4 separate regions of the Homo sapiens genome follow, and all the other regions are linked to region 2. The links are contacts of gene promoters, found by promoter capture Hi-C in blood cells and fetal thymus (Javierre and others, 2016). All regions are on one chromosome and are shown on one strand. The core of a region is centred on a gene start or on the middle of the fragment in contact, and the rest is flanking DNA. Distances in the headings are between cores, read along the strand shown. Region 1 has its middle 21 kb from the start of MIR4455. Region 2 holds the start of CASP3 (caspase 3). Region 3 holds the start of LINC02362 (long intergenic non-protein coding RNA 2362). Region 4 has its middle 8.5 kb from the start of MYL12BP2.

Region 1 (3,417 bases), core at 470-2,969, 310 kb after region 2:
ACTAGATTCTCTTAAGGAGCACATAACCTAGATCCCTTGCATGCGCAGTTCACAAAAGGGTTCACTCTTCTTTGAGAATCTAATGCTGCCGCTGATCTGACAGAAGGCAGAGCTCAAGCGGTATGTGAGTGATGGGGAGTGGCTGTGAATACAGAGGAGGCTTCACTCGCTTGCCTGCTGCTCACCTCCTGCTCTGCAGCCTGGTTCCTAACCTCCTGGTTCTGGGTGTTGGAGACCCCTGCTATAAAGGAACACCTGCGGCTAGGCAATTTGTAAAGAAAAAAGTTTGAATTGGCTCACGATTCTACAGGCCATACAGGAAGCATGGCACCGACATCTGTGCCACTTGAGGGCCTGAGGAAGCTTACAAGCAATTGAGGGAGAAGGGGAAGGGGGAGCAGGTGCATCCTATGGTGAAAGCAGAGTGAGAGAGAAGCTGGAGGTGCCGCACTCTTTAAACAACTAGATCTCACACGAATTCACTCGCTCTTGCCAGGATAGCACCAAGCCATTCAAGAGAGATCAGCCCCTATGACGCAAACACCTCCCACTAGGCCCCACCTCCAACACTGGGGATCACATCATGAGACTTGGAGGGATACACATCCCGATGGAACAAGCGGCTGCTATGTGTGTGAGGATCTGGAGAAGCAAGAAGGGCCTTGCTCCCCTGGAGCTGACACTGCAGTGGGAGAGACAGCCGTAAATGTGCAGACAGACAGATGCATAGCACAGTGGTAGTGATAGCTATGTGTGCGGAATGAAATGGAGCGGAGGACGGAGAGGGACTGGAACAAGCAGCAGAGCTTTCACAGAGAATCCATCTTGCCCATCACTCATGTCCTACAGCACCCAACACATCACTGAGCAAGTTTATTAGGCCCCCGTGCTGCCCAACTTGCTTCCAGAGGCCTTGAAGGACACCAAAGAAGACGCATGGGATGCAGCTGGAGGCCAACCCTCAGAAAGCTCACCCTTTAGTTGGCAAGCCATGAGCACATAATTCTAGAAAGCGTGTAATTACATGCCCCGCGCTGTTGGTGTGGGGCTAATTCCAGGTGTGGCTGAAGGTTGCCAGAGGTGGCGACCATCTCAGCAGGAGGTGGGTAGGGAAGCCTCTGAGAAGAGGTGGCTCCTAGACATTGCTCTAAAGGCATGTTAATGTGAGGTGGAAACAGGCCCGGGTGCAGAGCAGCAGGCTTTCCCAAGACTTCATGGCTATTTATGAGGGTGGCTGAGATGTTTGGACCTAGAGAGGTTGGATACCCAGAGCTAGCCAGAGAAGCAGAGGAACACTGGGGGAAACAGACACACAAGCTCTCACCTCGCCTGTGCTGCACACTAATTTTAGAGCCTCAGGCATGTCATTTAATCTCTCTGTGCTTTAATGCCTTCCCCCTTAAAGGAGGGATAATAATTTATGTCAGCCTCTCCCCAGGGATGGTATAAGGGGAGAAAGGAGATAATAGCTGGGAACATGATTGGGATAATAAAGAGTAACAGGAATAAGCCTATTATTAAGTATTAATGTTATGATTTTGCAGCTCACAATTGGCAAGCTCCCTGAATAACTATACCACGAAGAATCTTGAAGCTGTGGCTTCTCTGTGGGCACTTTATCTTCAAACCCATCAGATTCCATAGATACTAAAACCCCGTGTTCGAGGTTTTATTTTCTACTATATGATTTGAATGTTCATTAACTGCTTAAACCTTGCAGCTCCTTCCAAGTGGCTCCTGAATACTGCTTGGGGTTGCTTGAGCACGACGTTGAATAGGGCCCCGGAGATACCCGCCCTGATGTAAGCTACACAGAAACGGGAACTACCGCACACTCTAAAGTCTTTCCCATATTTTGAGTGTGAAAGCAAATTGTCATTGCATTTTGGAATGAACCCAGGGCTCTGTGTCTCCAGCCAGGGTGCTGGGGCAGCGGTGAGTAGAGGCGGGTTGCAGGGATGGTCTTCCTTGAGCATCACTTTAGTTCATGGAAAATAATTTGAAAGATTATGATATTAAGTCAGATGTGTTTAACTCAGTGTCTCTGGCCTCTTTAGACACAAGCCTGTGTCTAAAAAGTAAATTATCCTTCTCTTTTCAGATGGAAGTGATGATGTCGTGAGCTCACACCAGGCTGCTTGCTGGAACTTCCGTGAATGCTCCAGCACGCTGCCCACGGTACTCTGGGACATCTCGCTTGGCTTCACTTTTTTATCTGTGTTGTCTCCGGCCTCTGTACCTTCATGACAGGTCTGCCCGGTGGGGCCCAGCTGATGCCCCCCACTGCCTCCCACCTGCAGCCTGGTGGCCAGGACATCCACCTCTCCCATCCCTGCAGCTTGGCTGAGATGATGAGCTGATGTAAGCACGTGGTGCTGAGCCTTGGGGCTAGCTGGAGGACCACACAGAGCGTAAGAGATGCCTGCACTAAAAGGGCTTGGCTGCCCTCACAATTGCTGTACTGCCCGCAGCAGGCTTCCCTCCATGGACACAGGCGCCACCACCCACACCCCACCAGGAAGAATCCCCAGGTAGCTCCACACCTTGGAATGAAGGCCAAGCAAGCTGCAGAGAGGAAAGCCTTACTTTCCCCAGTCTCAGTCCACTTCTTTTTGTACTCTGGGATTAAACTCTTTTCAGGATGACTAACAGTGGAAGCATCTATTTGTTCAGAAGGAAACAGCCACTCCGACCCACAGGTTCTGGTCTCTGCCGGCCGGTGCCAGTCAATAGAGTAACTGATGATGAATTTCACAAAGCCCAGTCCATTCCGTCTCAGATGCCAATAAGAATCCGTCCAGGCCAGGTGCAGTGGCTCGCGCCTGTCATCCCAGCACTTTGGTAGGCCAAGGCGGGAGGATCATTGGAGCCAGTAATTCGAGACCCGCCTGGGCAACGTAGGAAGACCCTGTTTCTACAAAAAGAAAAAGGAATCCGTCCAGGAGGACAAACGCTGTCAGCTCCAATTCTAGGAGGTACATGGAGTAGTCACATTCATAGAGACAAGACATAGATTGGTGGTTGTCAGGGCCTGGCGGGAAGGGGAGGGGGAATTAGGGTTTAGCAGGTACAGAGGAAGCTTCAGTTGGTTGGATGAAAAAGTTTTGGAGCTAGGGCACGGTGATGGCTGTACAAAAATGTGAGTGTGTATCAGGCCACAGAACTGCACACTTAAAAATGAATACAATGGGGACTTTTATCTTATGCACATTTTATCACAATTTTAGCAAATCAGTCCAGGTTGCACCATGCTGCATCTGGACTGTTCTTGTCACCATCTCTCTCCAGTGTGAGGCGAGATAGAGGCCAGATCTGGGGGCAGAGTCCAGCATTGGCTGCAGGCCTCCTGTGAGCAAGCTTAGACCAAAAGGCACACAAACATTTCCCAAGAGCAACAACAGTTTCCTGCTCAGGCCA
Region 2 (3,220 bases), core at 174-2,673:
GGAGAAAGGGAGTGCAGAGGTGTTGCAGGCAGACACTAGGTATGAAGGTCAGCATTGCCGTGCAGAAATCGAACCGGTGCTAAAGATAAGGAGGGGTGGGGGCACTCAGGACCCAACACACGCAGGGGTTTGTTAGCCATATTAAGTGCTGGGTTTAACCTAAGGGCAAAGGACGAGCTTTCTAGACTTTCATTTCATAAAGATCCCTCTGCCTGTGCTGTAAAAAGTGGACTGCAAAGGAGCAGGCGGGTCTGGAAGTGGAGAGACCAGGGAAGAGGCTGCTGTGGTCAGACGGCTGAAATCAGAGATAGAGAGACGCGGACAGATCTGGCAGACATTTACAAGGTCGACAAGGCTTGGCGACTAAGCAGGAAAAGAAGTGGGTGGGCGAGAGGGGGCTGCGAACGATGTTTTCCGGTTTCCTGCTTGGGTGCCACTTACTGAGAATGGGGGAAGAGGCAGGTGCAGGGCACACCCACCGAAAACCAGAGCGCCGAGTGTGAGCAGGGCTCGCTAACTCCTCACGGCCTGGGATTTCAAGGCGACGCCAACCAGCTGTGGCCACGGATACACAGCCACAGGTATGAGCTGCGAGCACTCACGAAACTCTGCAGGGCCGAAAAGGAATTGGAGTTTAAACCCTGCAACTATCTCTCTGGAAGAGCTAAACCACATTGTCAACCCGGGATAATCCAGGCCCCAGGCATGGAAGGCAGCAGAGACGGAAGCCTCGTCCAAAATTGGAAGGATCAGCCCCCAGGGCGAGTATCTCACAGTCAGCACCCGGCCGCCCCAGCCCTCGCAGCACCGCTTCCCGGGGCCACTCCTCCGCCGGCGGTAGCGCCGTCCGTTTCCCAGCTTGCCGCTGCCTTCCGCCGCCTGACCCGGCCTTCCGGCACTCGGCCGGCCGCCAGGTCTCCCGCCCTCGGAGCTCGGTGCCCCGTGCCCGACCTCCCGGCCCCGGGCTCGGTTCCCCTGGCCAGGCCTCCCGCTGCCTGGCCTCCCCGGCCCGGCCTCGCGCTGCCCGGCCTCCCCGGTCCCAGCCCAGCCTCCCGCCCCCGGGCCAGGTCTCCCCTCCGATGACCTGAGGCCTTTCCTTAGGTTACCCCCAGGTCCCTCTCCCTAAATCAAAAGCCTTAACCCGCTGCCTGGCTTCCCCGGCCCCGGCCCAGGCTCCCGCCTCCGGGCCAAGTCTCTCGCTCCGCGGGCTTCACTGCTCGCCCCCGCCCGGGCGAGGTGGCAAAACAAACACTCCGCCTTCCAGACCGGGCAGGTACCCGGGCGGGCGCAGGGCCTGGGAGAACGCAGGGAGCGGGGGCAGGGCTGACGGCCCGGAGCGAGGGCGGCAGTCACCGCACAGCCTCCTCATACCTTCTACAACCGCCTCACAATAGCACCCATCCGCTAGGAGCCGCGTCTGCACTGCTTCCGCGGCCCGCCGCCGGGAGATGTGCTCCAGCGCCAGCCCCGCCTCCCGCCCGCCCCTGTCGGCCCCTCGCGCCGCCTCCGCTGCGGCCCGTCCCCTAGCTCCCGCCCGCCCGAGAACCCAGCCCCAGGCTGGGCCCCAGGAGGCGCCCGCCCACCGCAGCGCGCCCCGCCCCCGCGCCCCGCGTCCTCACGCCCTGGTCCCGCCCTCGCGTCCCGCGCCAGTCCTCCCGCTTTGGTCCCGCCCTGAGGCTCGGCCCGGCTCCCCCGCCCCGGATTTGAAATCTAGGTCTTCCTGAGAGTCCGCGGGCTTCCGCTCCCAGCGCGGGATTCTGGAGGGAAATTGAGGGAGACTTGGAAACCGCGCCAGGCCCAACGGGTACCTAGAAGGGAGACAAAGCCAGGCCTGCTGCCCAGTTTGAGCTCTGGGAAGAAGAGGAGCAGGCCGGGACGCCCACCGGTAATTTCTGTCTCCTCTGCGATGACCTGAGGCCTTTCTTTGGGTTACCCTCAGGTCTCTCTCCCTAAATCAAAAGCCTTAACCTCCTGTCATCAGGGTGCCAGGCTAGAAATAACCAGGTCCACGCATGCTGTGTTTTCCACCATGTCAGGCTGCTGTGGACGCTCTTTCGATCACAAAAGCCACGAGCTGCGTGGAGTTCCCAAGGAGGCAGTTCTCAGCACTTGCTGGTCACTGGGTAGTCAGAGCCTGACACACAGGCTCAAGCCGCTCACGCATCATAGTAGTGTACTTAATCCACATATAAATGTTACAAGTTAAGCATCCCACAACAAAGTAGCATTTAACATCATGAGGAAAAAGAGATGGGGCAAAGAGATTAACGAACCAATCCAGAGGGAGTGAAGAAGAGGAAAAGAAGCCTGGTTTGGGCCGAGAGGTCCTTCTGCAAAGACGGCGTCAATTAAGCCGGCTGTTGGGAGCTGCCGAAGGCCCCATCTTTTATAGTCACAGAGTCCTGTGGTGAGAACTGGTAATGGAAGAGAGTGCTTGTTTGTGTCCTTACCTGGCTGGATGCGGACTATTTTTTTATTTGTTTATTAAAGTATAGTATGCTTGTTGGCAAATGCCTTATGAAATGTAAAAATGGGGTCTTCTCCTAAGATGGAGTTATTAATGGTTACGTCAATGGTGTGCTATATACACTGCCCTACCGATCCCCTTCCTATTTTGGGTCGTGAACTCATTTCAGACCCTGAAGCAAACTGTGAATCATTTTCGCAGAAGAATTCACCAACACATGTGAGCACGACATTCTGCATCAGATTTCAAAAAGTTCTTGACATTCAGAAGTCAGATTCAGGGACCCCATGGCAGAGCCTGTTTCTAACACTTGCGCCTATTCGACTATAGGGACTATATTCTGCACAGAAATATACTTAGTTTTATATATGGTTACCCCTTGCTGAGTTTATTGCATGCTTTTACATTTTCATAATACATTTGTTTGTTTCAGCCTTTCAACAATCCCTCGGGATAGGAATTCCAATTTAAAGAGGATAAGGTTTAAAGAGGTTAAGGCCGAGTTTAAAGAGGTTAAGTCCCGGCGCGGTGGCTCATGCCTGTAATCCCAGGACTTTGGGAGGCCGAGGCAGGTGGATCACGAGGTCAGGAGTTCGAGACCAGCCTGGTCAAGATGGTGAAACCCTGTCTTTACTAAAAATACAAAAAAAATTAGCCGGGTGCAGTGGTGGGCACCTGTAATCCCAGCTACTTGAGAGGCTGAGGCAGGAGAATCGCTTGAACCCGGGAGGCAGAGGTTGCAGTGAGCTGAGA
Region 3 (3,507 bases), core at 1,008-3,507, 270 kb before region 2:
TGTGGGGGCTTTGATGTGAGCAAAGGTGAAAGCCTCAGAGAAGCATTGCTTCTTGGAGGAGAATCAGATTCAAAGAAAAGGCGTGGTACTTCTTACAGAGTTGGCAATGAAGGGAAAGATGAAAGCACGTTGGGGGAGAATTTTAAGAATTTCTTGATGAAATGAAGGAGATACAGCTTTACATCACAGTGGTCACGTCACAAGGAAAAAACTCTGTTTTTATCGTCCAGTTGTAACTTCAATGTCCCAGGGCTTCCCAACCTGTAGGTACACATGATGTCATATTACTACTACATGAGCTGTCCTAAACATTCAAGTCCTAACCTTGAGACCCCAGCCTATGAAACCTCAGGAATTCAATAGCAGCACCCCCTGTTGCTACCTTTTTTTTTTCTTTTGAGATGGAGTCTCACTCTATTGCCCAGGCTGGAGTGCAATGGCGCAATCTCGGCTCACTGCAACATTTGCCTGCTGGGTTCAAGTGAGTCTTCTGCCTCAGCCTCCCAAGTAGCTGGGATTGCAGGAACCTGCCAGCATGCCCGGCTAATTTTTGTATTTTTAGTAGAGACGGGGTTTCACCATGTTGACCAGGCTGGTCTCAAACTGCTGACCTCAGGTGATCTGCCCACCTTGGCCTCTCAAAGTGCTGGGATTACAGGTGTGAGCCACTGTGCCCAGCCTCCACTACCATTTTTGAGGTCCCTCCCACCTTTAGTATCCAGGGTTCTCTGCTTTTGTGTGCCAATCCACTAAGTACACTTCTGCCATCCCTAGCCCTGGAGCTGCCACTGCTTGGGCCAACGGCCTACCTACTGCCTTTCTGCCTTTAGGCAATTTTCATTCCTTAGCTAAGGCTTCTGCTTTCCCTACTGTCTTAGTCACTTTGGGATGCTATAACAAAATACCTCAGACTTGGTAATTTATAAACAATAGAAATTTATTTCTCACAGTTCTGGTGGCTGGGAAGTCCAAGATGAAGGCATAAGCAAATTCAGTGTCTGGGGAGGACCTGTTTCTCATAAATGGCACCTTCTATCTGTCCTCACATGGTGAAAGGGGCAAACAAGCGTCCTTAGGCCTTTTTAATAAGAGCATCAACCCATTCATAAGGGCGGAGTCCTCATGACCTAATCATCTCTCAAAGTCCCCACCTCTTAATACTATTGCATTGGAGATTGTGTTTCAATATATGAATTTCGAGGGGACATAAACATTCAGACCATAGCATCTACTGATGCAGTCCTATTCCAGAATGTCTAGGAACTTTTACCGGGCCATATGCCTCTGTCATTACTGGGGAAGTTCTCATCTTCTACTTGATCTGTCACCCAGGCTCAGGCCACTAAGAAATAGCTAGGGAAAACTCTGCTTAATATAGGTGATATGGTTTGGCTCTGTGTCTCCACCCAAATCTCATCTCATATTGTAATCCCCATAATCCCCACTGTTGAGGAAGGGACCTGGTGGGAGGTGATTAGATCATCGGGGTGGTTTCTGCATGTTGTTCTCGAGATAATGAGTGAGTTCTCACAAGATCTAATGGTTTTGTAAGTGTTTGACAGTTCTGCCTTCACGGGTTTCTCTCACCTGCCGCCATGTAAGACATGCCTGCTTCCTCTTTTGCCATGATTGTAAGTTTCCTGAGGCCTCCCCAGCCATGTGGAACTATGAGTCAATTAAACCTCTTTCCTTTATAAATTACCCAGTCTTGGGTATTTCTTTATAGTAGTATGAAAACGGGCTAATACAAGGGGTGACTGGGACCTGAAGTGGCAGTTTTACACTCCCAGCCATTCTCTCTTCAAGGTACACACACCCCTTGAAGCAGGCAGGTGTCTTCACGGGTTCAGGCAGCCGTCAAGACACTGTACCAAGAACACCTCCTACCACCTTCAGAGCCTAATTGGCCCCATCCTCAGGCTAGATTCTTTTCCTGGGATCCCTTCTCTGCAAGCTCTTCTAGCTCTTTTCCCAGGAGCCTCCTCAGCCCCTACGTTAATCTGTTTATGCAAACATAACACAGAAGGCCTGGCCCTGCCCTCATGCCTGGCACAGGTTAGGTTCTGACAAAGCACCTGCCATGTAAGCTCCCTCATCCTGTCCTGAGTGTGAGATTCTAGCATAGGGTAGAAAGATACCAAGAAAGCACAAAAGCTTAACGTTTGTGGCTCTGTTTTATGAATATGTTGAAATATTCCCAATTTCAAAATTGCTGAGTCAAAATGTCATGAATCCCAGGATCTAGTGGGAATTATAATGCAAACTGGTCCACAAGGGAAACTGTATCAACGGCCAGAATGAAGCAAATTAGAATCACTTCAATAATCAAAAGTTAATGTAATTCTACTGGGTGGCTTTATAAAGCTTAAAAAGTTTGTTTGAATCTATGTTGTTTAAAAAACAAAATTGGCCAGCCACGGTGGCTCACACCTATAATCCCAGCACTTTGTGAGGCTGAGGCGGGTGGATCACTTGAGCTCGGGAGTTTGAGATAAGCCTGGGCAACATGGTGAAACTCTGTCTCTACAAAAAACATACAAAAAAATTAGCTGGGCATGGTGGCATGCACCTGTATTCCCAGCTACTACTCAGGAGGCTGAGGTGGGAGGATGGCTTGAGCCCAGGAGGCAGAGGTTGCAGTGAGCCTGCACTCCAGCCTGGGTGACAGAACAAGACCCTGTCTTAAAAAACAAAAATCAAATTGAATTAACTGCCAGCAGGTTTATATCCCCTTCAACTTCTACCAGAAAGGAATAAATTCTCAGCTCCTTTTATGCCACTTGACAACAGAATGAGGCTTGCTCAAAAAAGGGATAGCTCAGAGAAGGAAAGACTAATTTTAGCTATATAGAAACTGGGGTCACATGTCTGAGCTCTGACAGCCTCAGTGGTCAAATCTTGAATTCATGGAAGTCTGGGAGAAGATGGGTACTTTGGAATCAGTGCTCCAAAATATGGATCTTAGCTATTTTATATGCAGATGGTGTGGCTGATATAACTGAGTGCTTGCAATGTACTTCATACTTTACATTATCTTATCTAATTCTCACCTTGCAAGTAAGGTGTCAATACCCCCATTTTATATGTTGAGAAACTTTTTCTCATAGATACAAAGAGATGTGCCCAAAGTCGTCAGCAAATAAGAGCAGACTGAACCCAGGTTTATCTGATTTCAAAAAACGTATTCTCTTCCCACTACATATGTTGCTTTCCCAACTACTCTGGAAGGTATGGGATGCAGATTTCATTCTCTGGATATTCTTACCTTGGATTTTTCACTCCCTTTGGTATTCCTGGCAGGTTTCCTGAGGTGTGACAGACATCCTGAAGAGGCACTCAGCACCCATTCTCAACTCCTTCTGGAGTGTCTTCCTCTACTGCAGAGGCGGGAACTCTGAGAGCCATTTTTCCAGTCTCACTTGCAGCTGGGGTTCTAACTGTGAATTAGGTTCAACCAATTATATGCATTTGCAAGAGATTTGGAAGTCAGAATGGAGGCAGAAGCCA
Region 4 (3,039 bases), core at 3-2,502, 330 kb before region 2:
GAAAACATTCTGCAACTGGAAAAGTACATGTTCTCTTCTGTAATATGTCCTCTGCATAAATGTTTTAAAACTTCAAGTCGCCTTACCTGATCTTTTGTTTTTTTTTTTTTTTGAGACAGAGTCTCACTCTGTCGCCCAGACTGGAGTGCAGTGGCACTATCTCAGCTCACTACAACCTCCACCTCCAAGGTTCAAGCGATTCTCCTGCCTCAGCCTCCCATAGTCAGCTGGGATTACAGGCATCTGCCACCACACTTGGCTAATTTTTGTATTTTTAGAAGATACAGGGTTTTGCCACGTTGGCTAGGCTGGTCTCAAACTCCTGACCTCAGGTGAGACACCCACCATGGCCTCCCAAAGTGCTGGGACTGCAGGCATGAGCCACCGCACCTGGCTGTCCTACCTGATTTTTAAGGAGTAAGTAATCATTTGTGTAGATTTTAGTTTTTTGTTTGTTTGTTTTTATTTTTTTTAAAAAGTATAACATTTGGCCAGGTGCGGTGGCTCATGCCTGTAATCCCAGCACTTTGGGAAGCCGAGGTGGGTGGATCACAAGGTCAAGAGACCAAGACCATCCTGGCCAATATGGTGAAACCCTGTCACTACTAAAAATACAAAAATTAGCTGGGCGTGGTGGTGCACACCTGTAGCCCCAGCTACTTGGGAGGCTGAGGCAGGAGAATCATTTGAACCCGAGAGGCGGAGGTTGCAGTGAGCCGAGATCATGCCATTGCACTCCAGCCTGGTGACAGAGCGAGACAGCGTCTAAAAAAAAATTATATATATATATATATATATATATACACACACACACACACACACACATAATATTTAATATGTCAACAAGATTTTTAGATTTTTTTCTTTCTTTTAACTTTTATTTTAGGTTCAGGGGTGCATATGCAGGTTTGTTATGTAGGTAACTTACGTGTCATGGGAGTTTGGTGTACAGATTATTCCACAGCCCAGGTCATAAGAATAGTACCTGACAGGTAGTTTTTCGATCCTCACCCTCCTCTCTCCCTCCACCCTCCAGAAGGCCCTGGTGTCTGCTGTTCTCTTCTTTGAGTCCTTGTGTACTCAATGTTTATCTCCCACTTATAAGGGAGAATATGTGGTGTCTGGTTTTGTTTCTGTGTTAGTTGGTTCACGTAGGATAATGGTCTCCAGCTTCATCCATGTTGCTGCAAAGGACATAATCTCTTTCTTTTTTATGGCTGTATAGTGCTCCATGGTGTGTATGTATCACATTTTAGATTTCTTATTTTAAAAAAATTCAATGCCCCCAAAATGTAATCACCTACAAACATTTCACCAGGTGAAAACTTTCTCATCCCACAAACTTTAGGCCATGGACAGTATGCTTTTCCAGAATCTAGGGAAAAGTTAAAGCCCTGGGCACAAGGTAAATTCACTTAGAATTTCAGGGTAGATACTGATTTTTATTAGGCTCTTGTGCCACTCACAGAAATGCCACATGCTCTTAGTCATCAGCCTCACACTAATACCTGTATACCACATCCTATTCAACAGAAAGGAATATCCACTTTAACACCCATCAGGAAAAAAAAAATGCTCTTTTTAAAATAAATCACTGACAATTTTCTCAAATAAAATGTCGGATCAAAAAATAAATGCAGGCCAGTCATGGCAGCTCATGCCTGTAATCCCAGCACTTTGGGAGGCCAAGACAGGTGAGTCACAAGGTCAGGAGTTCAAGACCAGCCTGGCCAACATGGTGAAACCCCGTCTCTACTAAAAACACAAAAATTAGCCAGGTGTGGTGGTAGGTGCCTGTAATCCCAGCTACTTGGGAGGCTGAGGCAAGAGAATCGCTTGAACCCGGGAGGTGGAGGTTGCAGTGAGCTGAGATCATGCCACTGCACTCCAGCCTGGGCAATAGAGCGAGACTCTGTCTAACCAAAAAAAAAAAAAAAGAAAGAAAGAAATGCATAAACAAATGTATCCCTACAATGGGATATTATTCAGCCATAAAAAGGAATGAAGGGCTGGGCGCAGTGGCTCACACCTGTAATCCCAGCACTTTGGGAGCCCGAGGTGGGAGGATCCTGAGGTCAAGAGATTGAGACTATCCTGGCCAACATGGTGAAACCCCACCTCTACTAAAAATACAAAATTTAGCTGGGCGTGGTGGCACGCACCTGTAGTCCCAGCTACTCAGGAGGCTGAGGCAGGAGAATCGCTTGAACCCAGGAGGCCGAGGTTGCAGTGAGCCGAGATAGCATCACTGCACTCCAGCTTGGTGACAGAGCAAGACTCCATCTCAAAAAACAAAAAACAAACAAGCAAAAAAAGGAATGAAGTTCTGACACAGGCTACGACATGGATGAACATTGATTGGAAACATGCTGCTAAGCGAAAGAAGCCAGACCCAAAAAAGAAACACTGAATGATTCTGCTCATACAAGGAACCTAGAATTGGCAACTTCATAGAGGCAGAAGGTTGAAGAGACGTTACCAGGGACTGAGGGGAGAGAGAGCTGCTGTTTACTGGATATGGAGCTTCTGTTTGGGATGATGAAAATAATGAAAACATTTTTGGAAATAGATGGTGGCAATGGTTGCACAGCATTGTGAATGTAATCAATGCCAGTGTACCGGCCTCCTAAAAGTGGTTCAAATGGCAAATTTTATGTCTATTTCATCACAATAAAAAGTACAAATATGAAAATAAATGACGACTTGGAACACCTTGAGCCATAGAGTTCCGCCTGGGGGTCTTTGGCTGAAAGGACAGACTAGACTGTGTTCCCACGGCTTTTCCATCCCAGAGCACTCACAAGCCCATCTCCTCCATCTCCACGGCCCCTCCCCCCCATTCTGCTGGCCTGACGGCTCTGCTTCCGATCTCAGCCCCACCAGGAAAAGCTTCCAGAATCACAGAAACACATTCTGGGAAATTAGTTTTCTTAAAGCCTTTGCTTTTGGTTTTAATAAAAAAAAATTAAATATCTTGAAAGCAAAACTGCCATCTAAAGCAGGCTAAAATATAACTGCAACTTTAGGAAAACTTAATTA

The links. The method cuts DNA at HindIII sites, captures the fragments that hold promoters and counts their contacts. A CHiCAGO score of 5 or more calls a contact.
Region 1: a contact is called between a fragment that was not itself captured here and the fragment with the promoter of CASP3 in region 2, in 1 of 17 cell types (neutrophils). The highest score is 5.6, in neutrophils.
Region 3: a contact is called between a fragment that was not itself captured here and the fragment with the promoter of CASP3 in region 2, in 1 of 17 cell types (activated CD4 T cells). The highest score is 5.1, in activated CD4 T cells.
Region 4: a fragment that was not itself captured here is called in contact with the fragment with the promoter of CASP3 in region 2 in 2 of 17 cell types (naive B cells and neutrophils); the score reaches 6.0 in naive B cells.

What each region holds. Positions count from the first base shown.
Region 1 is chr4:184,957,236-184,960,652 of GRCh38, forward strand. No RefSeq gene overlaps it. Among named protein-coding and RNA genes, the nearest start is that of MIR4455, 21 kb to the left of the region's middle. RefSeq lists a silencer at 295-458. The HindIII fragment of the contact is 2,716 bases long and covers 362-3,077 here.
Region 2 is chr4:184,648,024-184,651,243 of GRCh38, forward strand. CASP3 (caspase 3) reads right to left here and starts at 1,424. Exons shown (of 8, transcript NM_004346.4): 1 at 1,372-1,424; 2 at 442-608. It overlaps PRIMPOL (primase and DNA directed polymerase), which reads left to right and starts at 1,715. Exons shown (of 14, transcript NM_152683.4): 1 at 1,715-1,885. RefSeq lists silencers at 932-1,141, 1,152-1,731. The HindIII fragment of the contact is 9,772 bases long and covers 1-3,220 here.
Region 3 is chr4:184,378,869-184,382,375 of GRCh38, forward strand. LINC02362 (long intergenic non-protein coding RNA 2362) reads right to left here and starts at 3,438. Exons shown (of 6, transcript NR_125934.1): 1 at 3,266-3,438. The HindIII fragment of the contact is 210 bases long and covers 2,153-2,362 here.
Region 4 is chr4:184,321,322-184,324,360 of GRCh38, forward strand. No RefSeq gene overlaps it. Among named protein-coding and RNA genes, the nearest start is that of MYL12BP2, 8.5 kb to the left of the region's middle. The HindIII fragment of the contact is 3,269 bases long and covers 1-2,887 here.